Regions from separate parts of the Homo sapiens genome. Here all the other regions are linked to region 1. Evidence: promoter capture Hi-C in 16 types of primary human blood cells and fetal thymus (Javierre and others, 2016). All regions are on one chromosome and are shown on one strand. The core of a region is centred on a gene start or on the middle of the fragment in contact, and the rest is flanking DNA. Distances in the headings are between cores, read along the strand shown.

Evidence for each region. The method cuts DNA at HindIII sites, captures the fragments that hold promoters and counts their contacts. A CHiCAGO score of 5 or more calls a contact.
Region 2: the fragment with the promoter of ETNK1 here is called in contact with the fragment with the promoter of ZDHHC17 in region 1 in 1 of 17 cell types (total B cells); the score reaches 5.8 in total B cells.
Region 3: a contact is called between the fragment with the promoter of IKBIP here and the fragment with the promoter of ZDHHC17 in region 1, in 2 of 17 cell types (total B cells and non-activated CD4 T cells). The highest score is 6.6, in total B cells.

What each region holds. Positions count from the first base shown.
Region 1 is chr12:76,762,142-76,766,486 of GRCh38, forward strand. ZDHHC17 (zDHHC palmitoyltransferase 17) reads left to right here and starts at 1,974. Exons shown (of 17, transcript NM_015336.4): 1 at 1,974-2,188. The coding sequence starts at 2,096. RefSeq lists enhancers at 1,472-1,571, 1,868-2,162, 2,138-2,980, 2,172-2,321 and a silencer at 1,712-2,121. The HindIII fragment of the contact is 3,524 bases long and covers 640-4,163 here.
Region 2 is chr12:22,623,317-22,627,661 of GRCh38, forward strand. ETNK1 (ethanolamine kinase 1) reads left to right here and starts at 1,855. Exons shown (of 8, transcript NM_018638.5): 1 at 1,855-2,270. The coding sequence starts at 2,115. ETNK1-DT (ETNK1 divergent transcript) reads right to left here and starts at 1,730. Exons shown (of 4, transcript NR_135030.1): 1 at 1,357-1,730. RefSeq lists enhancers at 1,500-1,569, 2,100-2,269, 2,289-2,978. The HindIII fragment of the contact is 2,136 bases long and covers 1,620-3,755 here.
Region 3 is chr12:98,642,985-98,647,329 of GRCh38, forward strand. It overlaps IKBIP (IKBKB interacting protein), which reads right to left and starts at 1,804. Exons shown (of 3, transcript NM_153687.4): 1 at 1,539-1,804. The coding sequence starts at 1,717. APAF1 (apoptotic peptidase activating factor 1) reads left to right here and starts at 2,306. Exons shown (of 27, transcript NM_181861.2): 1 at 2,306-2,851. RefSeq lists enhancers at 522-1,149, 1,150-1,776, 1,777-2,404 and silencers at 1,981-2,180, 2,501-2,710. The HindIII fragment of the contact is 4,349 bases long and covers 1-3,488 here.

The DNA.
Region 1 (4,345 bases), core at 724-3,223:
TGGGAGGCTGAGGCAGGAGAATCGCTTGAACCTGGGAGGTGGTGGTTGCAGTGAGCCGAGATCGAGCCATTGCACTCCAGCCTGGGCATGAGTGAAACTCAGTCTCAAAAAAAAAAAAAAAATTGAGATTTTTGAGTGAAAATGACTTATGTCCATGTTAACATATGACTGAAAACAATTCGATGCTCCAAGGGCCGACCCTGAGACTATCTAGCTGTAAAAGATGACTCCTAGTTTGGGCCAGGACGAACAGAATGAAAATCAGCTCGGACTGAAATGAGAAAAAGTAGTTGTGCTGGGAGGACAGATACAGAAAAAGCCAGCAGCAAAGTTAACTGAGAAACTTCTTTCTCCCACAGCCGTGCAGTAGCTATGACACGCCATATTCACCCCTCTTTGAGTAACTGCTGCTCTTACTAGTGTTGCTACTTTATTACTGGAGGTACCTAATTACTAAATTGCTGTATCCTCAAGACAGCATCCAATCCCTCGTAAATCCCAGCTTTTCTTCATGCCGCCACGGAAACGGCGTCCCATGCAGAACTGATTCTGGCTCTCCTTAGACCCTCCTCAGACTCCTTTGGCGGGAAACTAATCTTACAAAGGAGGCTTCCTCTTTCCTTTTCCAGTGGCATTCCAAGCTTCCTTTGGAGTGCCCTCCCTCCTGATTTACAAATTGGCCTGACGTTATCGGAGTACAGGCTTTTTCCTGGTGGTTTCTGGCCTAACAGGAGACAGATTAGTAAGTACCAGGATCTCTAATAGGTCAACTTTCATGATCTCTGCTAAATTCTCAGCTGTTTAGACTTACAATTTTTAACAGCTAAAAGGAAAGACAAATGCTATCTAAAACTGTCCCATCAGCCCATTTACAGGGAGCACCTCCCCCATACCGCCCTAAAATCCTTTAAAAAATGGCTTTAGTCATTTTATCTGCCTTGCATTTAAGCGAATTCAGTTTAAGTGGCTTCAGTTCTGAATTCCTGGATTATATCGAAATGTTGCAGATGGCGGTGTGTGGGCTTTGAGCTCGTAAATTTTTTGTGTGGTACTAATTCAAGACGATTGAGAGCAGGTTGGGATCATTTTAAAAAGAGTTCTCGGCAGGGTGTGGTGACTCAAGCCTGTAATCCCAGCACTTTGGGAGGCCGAGGCGGGCGGATCGCTTAAGGTCAGGAGTTCGAGACTAGCCTGGCCAACATGGTGAAAACCCGTCTCTACTAAAAATACAAAAATTAGCCGGGCGTGGTGGCGTGCACCTGTAATTCCAGCTACTCGGGAGGCTGAGGCAGGAGAATCGCTTGAACCGGGAGGCAGAGGTTGCAGTGAGCTGAGATCGCGCCATTGCACTCCCGCCTGGGCGGCAAGAGCAAAACTCTGTCTCATTAAAAAAAAAAAAAAAAAAAAAAAAAAAAAAAAAAGGGTTCTCTAGTAGGAAGTCCCGAGTTGTATCCATGTTTTTCCGGGCGTCCCCCGGAGGGACAGGTTGCGGGTGACCTTTTCAAGTGTGGAGGAAAGGGAAGCTGCTTTTGTCTTCAGGAATGATGCAGGTCTCGACTCAAGCCTGACGGGCCCAAACCTCCCTGGAGCTGGCTGACGACTCTGCCCGAGTTCCTGAAGAGGGGTCCCGGGGGTCCCGGAGCGGAAGTGGGAGCGCGTGGGCGTGGGCTCCTCGGCTGCCTGGGGCTCCAGACTTGTGCTGCGTGCGGCTCCGGAGCTCTGTTCTCGCTCCTGAGCAGCTGCTAGGTTTCCCAAGCGACTGTCTCAACCGCCCGGCCGCCTCCCCCGGGCAGCCAGAGCTTCACATCTACCTCCAGCCGGGACCCGCCCCCGAGCCGCGGGGCCCACGCCCAGAGCCCTCCGCCGTCCCCAGCGCAGTGCAGCAGAGCGCGATCCAGTCTGGGGCCGGGCCGCGCTTCCGCGCACGCGCGGAGAAACCCGCGCCCTCCGAGGGGGGAGGGGACAGAGGGGGCGTCACGGGGGCAGGAGAAGAAGGAGGAGGAGGCCCGCGTCGCCTCCGGCGGGGCTCGCGCTCGCCCCGCGCTCGCCCTCCGCCTCGCCCGAGCCCCGGGAGGGTGAAACGCTTTCTCCCAGCATGCAGCGGGAGGAGGGATTTAACACCAAGATGGCGGACGGCCCGGATGAGTACGATACCGAAGCGGGCTGTGTGCCCCTTCTCCACCCAGAGGTGAGGAACCGTGCTGAGTGGATTCCTTGCCCTGCGGCCCTCCAGCCTTTCTTCCCCGGACTCGCCGAGGGCGGCGGCCGACGTGTGTGGGGTAGTGGGACGTGCCGAAGTTGGGGAGGGTGGGGAGGCGAATCCAGGCCTGAGCGCGGCTGCGAGCGGATAACGGGGGAGGAGATAGCGGGGCGGGCCCGACCGGGGCGGGCTCTGGGACGCAGTCCCTGGCTGTGCCTGGAGGACAGAGGTGGAGGTGTTGATGGTTCTGCTGTGTCGCCGCGCTGCGTTTGAGAGCAGAGGCGGAGGGGCCTGGTGTGGTTTTTGAACCGCAGCTTAGACCCTAGTCTTGCTCCAAGCCTCTTGGGGCCAGGTGGAAGCGCGTCTGGTTTTGATTTCTTTTTCCTTCGCCAGGGTGAATGACGGTATCTATTGCTTCCTTTTAGTCCACTGTGAGGGGACAGTTTCATGGGCATAGTGATGTCCTTCCAGGTAATGCCATGGGTAGCACCTCGGGCACCTTGTGTCGGGCGTCCTTTTTTGAGCATTTGTCCTTAAGCGATTAAGAAGAGAGGTAAAAACTTTTGGGAATAGACTTACACTCACATTAGCTTGTCAAAGTACCGTTTTTCTAGGAGCTAGGGGTGGACAGTGCAACACGTTTCCCATCACAACATGAGTGTCTTCCCATGTAAGTAAACAGTGCCCCGCTCCACAGTCAGTCAGTCTGTGCTTGTTTACCTCCGAGTTTGTAGCTGAGCTAGTGCTAGTTAAGGCTTGGAAGCAATTCTTGATGCATTCTGATTTTTAGTGATCCACAGTGATGTCTGTATGCGGCAGCGGCACAGTTTGCTGAAGAACTCGGGTAGTTTTCATGAGGTTAAAAGATGACAGTCGTGTTGTAGGATGAACAAACATGGAAGTCTCTACCTGGTTACTTTGCAATGGAGTGATTCTGTTTTTTTCTGGATTTGGGTTTGTACCATGCCACTAGTTTTTGTTAAAAAGTGAATAATGACAACCATCCTTTTATGTTGCATGTTAACACTCAACCACCCTCTCATTCGTCACTTTGGTTTATCAAAAACACATGGGACAGTTCCTTCGGAATATATACCTGTGCCAGTCTCAGTAGAAAAGGCTACTCTGGGTTTCTGATAAACAGAACTATACAGTAAGACTAAACACTTGTCTGACCAAAGTGGTAACATTTTCAGAACTGGCATTGTAGACATCTCTTTTGGTTCACTTAGGCCCTAACATACGTCAGGAAATAGACAAAGTAGTTTTCAGATGTTGCCTTGAAAATGTTGCTAAGTGATTTCTATTCATCTGTTCCTGTGAAAGTATTCGTGAAAGTATTTCAAACACTTAAGTGTTTATCCAGTTTATTTTTTTGAGACGGGGTTTCTCCCTGTCCCCCAGGCAGGAGTGCACTGACACGATGACAGCTCACTGCAGCCTCTACCTCCAGGGCTCAAGTGATCCTCTCCCCTCAGCCTCCTGAGTAGCTGTGACCACAGGCTCGCGCCACCATACCCGGCTGATTTTTTTATTATTTGTAGAAGAAGAGGTCTCCCTATGTTGTCTAGGCTGGTCTTGAACTCTTGAACTCAAGTGGTCCTCTCACCTTAGCTACTTAAAGTGCTGGGATTACAGGCATGAGCCACCATGCCAGGCCTATCTTACGTATTTTAGCATACTGTTCTTCATAAACCTTTGCTTTGTAATATAGTACTGTTGTTTGCTACTTTAAGAATAATTTTAACTGGCAACAAATCCAGATTATTTGGTGTAGTAGAATGGCCAGTATAGGCTTGAAATTTAGCTACCGATCTTCAGGTTGCCATTCGATAGATAGGATATTACTAGAAAGTCAACCTCCTCATCATTGATAGTGGGAATTGGCATACATAATATATACCGTTCCTTTTTACCCAAGAAGCACAAGGTCTGATTATTTTAATACTTTGGATGGACCTTAAGCTTGTACTACATGGCTGAGGTCTTTCTGCATTTTCTGTGGTTAGTGTGTGCAGCTGGTGCAGACCTGGGGTAGTTCTGCTGCCTCCTAGCAGTGTGTTCTTGGGCAAGCTATGAATACGTCTCTGAGTTCTAGTTTCATCATTTATAATGGATAAAAATAATAGTTAATAAGCTATAGCG
Region 2 (4,345 bases), core at 605-3,104, about 54 Mb before region 1:
TTTTAACAAGTTCAGTAAAAAAACCCTTTTGAGATTTTAACTGGAATTGCATTATATGTACTGATTAGTTCAGGGAAAATTGAGGCCTTTACATTAATCTTTTCTCATTTATGAATATGGTTCATTTCTCCATTAATTTTATCCATGGATCCTGTACATTTTCGGTTACTTTTGTTCTCAGGTACCTAATAGTTTTTTTTTCTTTTCTTCTACTTGTTAATGGACTCTTATTTACCATTACAAACTAGTGCAGTTTGCAACATAATTTTCAATTAAATTGTTTTACAGTTACATAGTTTTAAAATTCTTAAAATGTCAACTGCTTAATAAAAAATACAATTTATACAAAAATACAAGAGATACTATCTGAAATGTGAAAGTAGTAGTATATTTATGATTTCTCCCCAAAGTGGAAGGAACACACACTCTAATGTTTCTTGTAGAAAATTATGCCTAAATCTGGCAGGGCGCGGTGGCTCACGCCTGTAATCCCAGCACTTTGCGAGGCCGAGGTGGGTGGATCACCTGAGGTCAGGAGTTCGAGACCAGCCTGGCCAACATGGTGAAACCCATCTCTACTAAAGATACAAAAATTTGCTGGGCGTGGTGGCACGCGCCGGTAATCCCAGCTACTCGAGAGGCTGAAGCAGGAGAATCCCTTAAACCCGGGAGGCGGAGGTTGCAGTGGGCCAAGATCGCGCCATTGCACTCCAGCCTGGGCGACAGAGTGAGGCTCCGTCTCAAAAACAAAACAAAAAAAAACAGAAACAAAAAACAAACAAAAAAACCACTAAATTTGAAAAATGTTAAATCAACTTCTTTGCTGTATTATAAAGCTCCATTTCCACCCCTCTTTTTAGTTTAGGAAGTTTACCGTTATCGGTGAAGTAATTATTTTGTTAATTACAAAGGTAAGTAGGTTCTTTCTGAACAATCAGGATGTAAACTTAATGCTAGTGAAGTAATTAAACATTTTGAATGTTAATTAAACTCAGTCCAGTTAAGGGTTTTATTTACTACTAACAAACGTATTCACCGTGTGCTAAGTGCTGCAGGGAATCCCAGCCCGTTTTCCTCCATCTAAAAGGAAAATTAGGAGGTCCCAATACTTTACTTGTAGATTTTCCAGTTTCTACCATTCCCTGTAAGGCACTGAGACGCAAGATTTCAAGGCCCACTCGGGGTACCCTGGCATGGACATCGAGTCGTTCTAGCGCTGAGCTTCAAAACTATTCCTTTCCTTCCCTTTCTTCTTCATACCAGACTCTAATCTGTTCTCCCTAGCTTCGAATTATTCACTGTATGGTCGAACATCTTACTCCACAAATAACCTCTGAAGTGTTGCAGTTGTCTTACCCAAATACCTGAACTCAGCTTGTCCCGAGTACTGCGATCCCGCGTACTGCTAATGGGAATATAGTTAACCCAACTAGTATGAGGTCCCCAGTACACAGCAGCTCCAAGATCAAGGCGACCGAGTAACACTGCTTGCCTAGACTCAGGCCAAGTTCGGAGAGTGATCCTGGGGTTATTTTAGAACGTGTCCCTTGCTTCCCAGAAAAATTCAGTCGTTAACTCAAGTCCAGATGCCCAATGACCATTCGGATAAGGTGAGCTAAAGCTTCAATGCCTTGAGGGGCTTGGCAGGGCTCGGGCTCATCCCGGAGAAGCAGCCCCGCTTTCCAGACTAGCAGTTCCCAGGGATGGGTGTGTGCTAATCGCAGGCCAACAAGCCCAGCGCGGTACAGAGGTCCCATTGTGACCGGAGGCGAGAAACCCCGCCTCGGCACCCTGACGCAGCGCAGGACCCGCCCCGCGCGTGACGCCAGCGTCAGGCCAGCCCCGGCATGCTCTGCGGCCGCCCGCGGTCCAGCTCCGACAACAGGAATTTTCTCCGAGAGCGGGCCGGGCTCAGTTCAGCTGCTGTCCAGACCCGGATCGGCAACAGTGCCGCCTCCAGACGTTCTCCTGCCGCTCGCCCGCCCGTCCCAGCGCCCCCAGCCCTCCCGCGAGGGCGCCCCGGGACGGAAGGATCCACCAGTCTGTCGGCGCCCGCCGTTCTCGTGGTCGCCGTCGCCGTCGTCGTGGTGGTAGTCTCCGCCGTCGCCTGGGCCATGGCCAATTACATCCACGTCCCTCCCGGCTCCCCGGAGGTGCCCAAGCTGAACGTCACCGTTCAGGATCAGGAGGAGCATCGCTGCCGGGAGGGGGCCCTGAGCCTCCTGCAACACCTGCGGCCTCACTGGGACCCCCAGGAGGTGACCCTGCAGGTAACGCCCACACCTCAGCTCTGGGTCTCTTATGCCCCTCACGCGGCTCTGGGGGTCCTCACCACAATCGCCTCTGTCCCACGATGACCGAGGAGGACCTAGGGCAACATCTCCTTAAGTCTATTGGGAAGTGACCCTGTATTTCCCCTCACACCTAGGAGGGTCACTCCCCCTTCCCGTCGCAGTTGCTCTTTGAGATTGACCTGAGGCACATTTTCTCTTTCTAGAAGCCGCTGCGTAAGTGACGGACCCATCCACGGGGGGAGATTCCTGCTGATAGTTGCCCCTCCTCCCACTCCCCAGTCCACGGTCACTGCAAAATGAACCTTTCCACTCCCCTTGCACGGGGTCCTCGTCTACCTCCTCCCCTCCCACCAGTAATGCAGTCATTAATCCTCTCTGATCTTTCCTTCCTCTCCCCTCCCCCTGCGATGTGCTTTCATTGATGCCTCACACTGCGTTTTGTCTTCCCAAACCCTAGCGTACTCAATTCCCAAAGTAATGACCACGACCATGCATCGCTAGGTCGGTTCTTAGGCAGCACCACACACATTGTTTTGTTTGAGTCGATATTTCTGAATTATTAAAGTCGTCTTACTGAAATTAATACCTGATACTAGAAGGAGCAGTGGCTTGTGACTGTTTCCTTTTCATGAGACACCGTGTTGATAGAGAAAAAATTGGGAGGAAAAAAATCCCTGAGACTCTAGGAGTTTTCTAATAAGTTGGAAGTTATGATTTCCACTACGTGATTTTTTTTGAATACTAATCTGTTTTTAGCTTTAGTTTCAGGAACTAGATACAAAAATAGATCTCTTTTTCTCCTTTTCCCTTGCAAACAAAAAAAAACAGTAATTTTCAAGATTGGGATATTTGGGATTTGTTCTAAATCTGAGCAATAATGTAAGAACATTCATTTGAATTAGCCAAATCATCTGCCTCGTTTTGATGACTAATTTATTCACCAATATTTGTTGATTTATTTGCTAAATTCTTCGCTAAACTAGCCAGCCACCCACACAAAGATGAATAAAACATGAGCAGTGCCTAGGGCCCAGAACAGTTCCTGACACTTGGGTTTTCATGTGTTAGTTTCAGTTCTTATTACCTAGAAGAGTTTTTAAGCAGATTATTTTAAAGGACCCGTATGTTTTGGAGAAGAAACTTGTTAGACAACAAATTTTGAAATTTAAGGGAGTATTTGTTAGCCGAGAATATAGGAAATAGTGAATCCAAAGTGATTTTTATGTCATTTAAAAAATATATTTCCTTTAAAGGAAATGTGTCTTCCAAATTGAAATTCAGTACTTGTTTAGTTTATCAATTTGTTTGTATTTTATTATATAAGACTCTAAAATTTATTAAGATGATTTGTTTTCTGGCAGTCACTTATACATAAAACATTATTAATTAAAAAGTGCTACTTCCTGGTAAACTCTAGTGTTGGCAGATCAGTTACTTTTAAGCAGTGACTTTAAAGTTTAAAGCTTTGAAGACTGGAATTTCCTTTGATGTATTTGTCTGTAGAATAGTAATAATAGCTACTGTGGGGTTAGTTAAATTATTTTTTTTTTATCTTAGTCGCCCGAACAACCATATTAGGTAGGCACTATCATTTTAGGTGAAACTCAGTGAAGTAAGCCAGGATGTAGGTAAAAAAGGGCAAAATGTAGTGACATTAAACTGTTTTTGCTTGTTGGAAAGTAACTACGTGTGTTTAAATCTTGGTTTCTTGTAGCAACTTTTAACCTAAAGACCTTTGGGTTTATAATCCGAATTTTTAATATTTGTAAGTGCAGGTAAATACTACCATTTATTTTTCCCTAAGATGATTATTAGTTAGAAATACATTCCCTCCATGTGCAAGCAAAGCTTTGGTCTAGAAGCTGTCCTAAAAGCATCTGCTAAGCTGAATTGATGATTATTCACCTTTCAACTCAGTAGATCTGGCTCCTTGCATTCTAGGTCATTGCAAACACTACTTTCATAATGGTTCAGAATTTCTTTAGTAAATCTCAAAGGAAATATTTTCTTTTGAGATTTTACTGTATTTCCCTTGAAATAGATAAGAATCA
Region 3 (4,345 bases), core at 554-3,053, about 22 Mb after region 1:
CTCTGTTGCCCAGGCTGGAGTGCAATGGCACGATCCCAGCTCACTGCAACCTCCACCTCCCCATTTCGAGTGATTCTCCTGCCTCAGCCTCCTGAATAGCTGGGATTGCAGGTTTGTGCCACCAAGCCTGGCTAATTTTTGTATTTTTTGTAGAGACAGGGTTTCACCATGTTGGCCAGCCTGGTCTTGAACTCCTGACCTCATGATCTGCCCACCTCGGCCTCCCAAAGTGCTGGGATTACAGGTGTGAGCCACCGCGCCCAGCCGTAACAAATCTTTTAACTCTGAAAAATACACTATTTGGGATGAGTCACCAGTAAAGTATAATTCCATATGTAGTAGCATAAAAAATGTCTAGATGTCCAGGGTCTCTTCTAAAATTCTATCACTCTGGAAGATTAACAACAGTCTTACTAAATAACTTTACACATGAATGAAAAATGGAGAAAAATTCTATTAAGATGCCAATCTTATTAAAATGAAATGGGCTATTCCCTCCTCCCGCCAGAAAAAAAAAGGCTGGGAAAATAAAATTCACAAGTTGGTTTTTTTCTTTTTTCTTTTTTTACGAGTTGGTTTTAAGGTTATTTCTAATATTCATTTTTCCTAATGACACCAATATATCGCCATTTACCTGATTTTAAAACTGCAACTGGTTAGTTTTAAGTGAACACAAGTGCTATGTTTTTGTAGCTTTACCATATTCAATCTGTAACTTACTTAATAAAAGACCTTAAATTCATAATGCATGCACGGTGATCAAAATATGAGCACTCCTCCAAGCTCTGCTACTATAACGTTTGCTCCTTTGGGAGCATAATGATATGGTTTTCTTTTTTTTTTTTTTTTGAGACGGAGTCTCGCTCGGTCGCCCAGGCTGGAGTGCAGTGATGCGATCTTGGCTCATAGCAACCTCCGCCTCCCGGGTTCAAGCGATTCTCCTGCCTCAGCCTCCGGAGGAACTGGGACTACAGGCGCCCGCCACCACGCCCGGCTGATTATTCGTATTTTTGGTAGAGATGGGGTTTCACCATGTTGGCCAGGCTAGTCTCGAACTCCTGACCTCAAGTGATCCACCTGCCTCGGTCTCCAAACATAATGATCTGTTTTAAGGTTGCAAGTATTTCCATTAGGTATTTATGGGGTGAGTAGGGTGGGGCAGATGTGTCCCGGAATGGGGCACAGCGGACAGGAAGTAACGGTTTATAACAACGTGAACGCTTCTGACGTGTAGCGGGAGCTTCAGAAAGCGTGGCCGAATCTGCAGCTCTTAACAAATGGCTCGTTCCCAAACCTTAGCCTCAACTCCTTCTGAGCGATAGGGGCATGCTACCAGCACGGGGGGAAATGAGATACAAGAAACGCCCGAAAGGGAAAAACAAGGCTGGGCTGTTTCCTTCCTTTGGGGTCAAGACAGAGGCACAGAAGGCCCAGGTCTGGGAGGTTGGATCACCTCCGGCTGGATGTTGAGCCGGGTGGGAGCCCAAACAGCAGGGGGCCCACAGGAGGCCGGCCCAGGCAGCCTCGCGTCCACTTACCAGGCCAGGCCCAGGCACGTCCCCAGCGACAGCAGGCTCAGGCACGTTCGGGGGTCTGCCCAGCCCCCGCCTCCGCTGCTCCGGGCCACGGGGGTCTTCCCGCCCTCGCTCCGCTTCCCGGGCTCCGCAGCAGGGGCTCCCTTGGGCCCCGACTTCTTCCGGCTCTTCACCTCAGACATGTCTGGAGACCCTAGGACGACAAGCCCAGGGCAGCTTCTTCACCAGGGGGAGCAGGACGTGGCCGCCTTGGCGTTCGTGGGAACCCTGGGCGGTGACCGCGCCCCCTCACAGACTTGGCACCGCCCAGAGCCCAGCCCCTTCCCTCTCCCCGGCATCCTCGTTGCTTCACTGAGTCTTTCAGCTGCCAGCTCCATAGTTCCCCTAGGAGAGGTGGGCGGCGACCTCAACCCACAGCGCCTTCCACTGCGATATTGCTCCAAATCCGAGGAAATTCAAACTCCCGGGCGCGCGCAGGCCGACGGGACCCGAGGAGGAGGGGCAGGACGAAGGGGTCGCGCGCGCCACGTCGGGCGCGCCGCCGCTGCCCGAGTCCGGCATTGGTGGGAACGCGGCGCGTCCCTGAGGCTTAGCCACGCCCCGTCCGCGGGGTAGGCGGGCACTTCTACGCGCGCGGGCATGAGCCGTGGCAGGAGTGCGCGGCGGCAGCGGTGGCCGCCCCTTGGGGCTTGGGGTGTGTTTATTTGCATAAGCGGGCGCGCGCCGTCCGGGCTGGGTGGATCCGGCGGGATTTGACTGCTCCGCTGTCCAGAGGCGGAGAAGAAGAGGTAGCGAGTGGACGTGACTGCTCTATCCCGGGCAAAAGGGATAGAACCAGAGGTGGGGAGTCTGGGCAGTCGGCGACCCGCGAAGACTTGAGGTGCCGCAGCGGCATCCGGAGTAGCGCCGGGCTCCCTCCGGGGTGCAGCCGCCGTCGGGGGAAGGGCGCCACAGGCCGGGAAGACCTCCTCCCTTTGTGTCCAGTAGTGGGGTCCACCGGAGGGCGGCCCGTGGGCCGGGCCTCACCGCGGCGCTCCGGGACTGTGGGGTCAGGCTGCGTTGGGTGGACGCCCACCTCGCCAACCTTCGGAGGTCCCTGGGGGTCTTCGTGCGCCCCGGGGCTGCAGAGATCCAGGGGAGGCGCCTGTGAGGCCCGGACCTGCCCCGGGGCGAAGGGTATGTGGCGAGACAGAGCCCTGCACCCCTAATTCCCGGTGGAAAACTCCTGTTGCCGTTTCCCTCCACCGGCCTGGAGTCTCCCAGTCTTGTCCCGGCAGTGCCGCCCTCCCCACTAAGACCTAGGCGCAAAGGCTTGGGTAAGTTGACCTCCTCGCTTTTCTCCCCGAGCCAGGTTCTTTGGAGGCTTGGTAGCTGATTTCAGGGACTGAGAATTTGAGGACATGGAATATTTGATAACCATCCTGCTCCTGTACCAGGAAGAGAAATTCTGTAATGAGGAAGTAGTAAACTTGGGGTTTTCGTGGATAAACGTGCGCTGTTTTCTGTTTTACGTCCATGAAGAGTTTTGGCTTTCCATTTTGTTGTGGGTTACAAAAGGTTTTGAGACTTAGTTCAGATAAGTTGTGCAGTTTTAAAACGTATTTAAGATTTGCATATTTTAGTTTAACAGGACTAGGTGAAATTGGAAATTAGTTTCAGAAAACCAGAGTGTCTTATTTGCTTAGCTATTGGACATCACCTAAAAAATTCATTCATTCTTGTTTTTTCACATCGAATTTCATTACTATAAATTAAGGAACATTTTATGTTTAAGAGGACAAAAACGTTATTAACATTTTAAAAAATGAGAGTTTTGATTCGAATCAATAACTTTTTATCAGTTTTGTGCCCCTGCTGGGCATTTTGTAAGCCTTGACAAGCATAGGCAAATGCCCTACGTCCGTCCCTGTTTTTCCAAGTGCTACATTTGGTGACTTCAAAAACAGTCATTGAAGCTTGATAATTATTGCCCCCTTCTGTGAGCTCCAAGTTACTTGTGCTCTGTTTTTGCACTTCGGGCATTCACATTCCCACTCTCTCTCTCTTTTTCTTCTTTGAGTAGACTGTGAATTATTTCAGGCAAATGACTCAATCTTTTCTGTAGTCTTGGTGTCTGACATATAGGGAGGGGCACAAATGTGTATTGAATGAATGAATTGATAAACCCGTTTAGACTCTTTCACTCTATACATTGTGTAAAGTTCTGTTAATGTTTTGAAAACTTGCAGATATTGTGAACTGGGTTTTATGCCCATGGAAAAATTTGCATTATATTTGAAATAAAGTTGCTAGAAACGTCAAGTATTTTACTATAAAGGCTGTTATTCTTTCCTCATGTCCTCCTGGTCTGAGAAATCACATCAGAAAGTGTTTCCTGTTGCTTTGTGGGAAATGTGTTTAGCAAGGAGGACCTAGAGCTGACATCCTCCTTGAACGAGAACTAATACTCAATAGTAACAATGCTCTATTCACTCTTATGTTTGATAAGGAAAACAAGAAGTCTCTTAATATTAGGACTTCAATGTAATCACTATTTTATACAATCTTAATTAAAAAAGGAAGTATTTTATTGTAAGAAATGATAATGTGTGCTAAAAAAAATTGACAGTAGAGGCCGGGCATGGTGGGGCTCACAAGTGTAATCCCAGCACTTTCGGAGGCTGTGGCGGGTGGATCACCTGAGGTCAGGAATTCAAGACCAGCCTGGTCAACATGGTGAAACCCCGTCTGTACTAAAAAAAAAAAAAAAATAAGACAAGGTGGGGGAGAAATCCCAAATTTTGCTACTCAGAAGTAACTCAAACATTTCG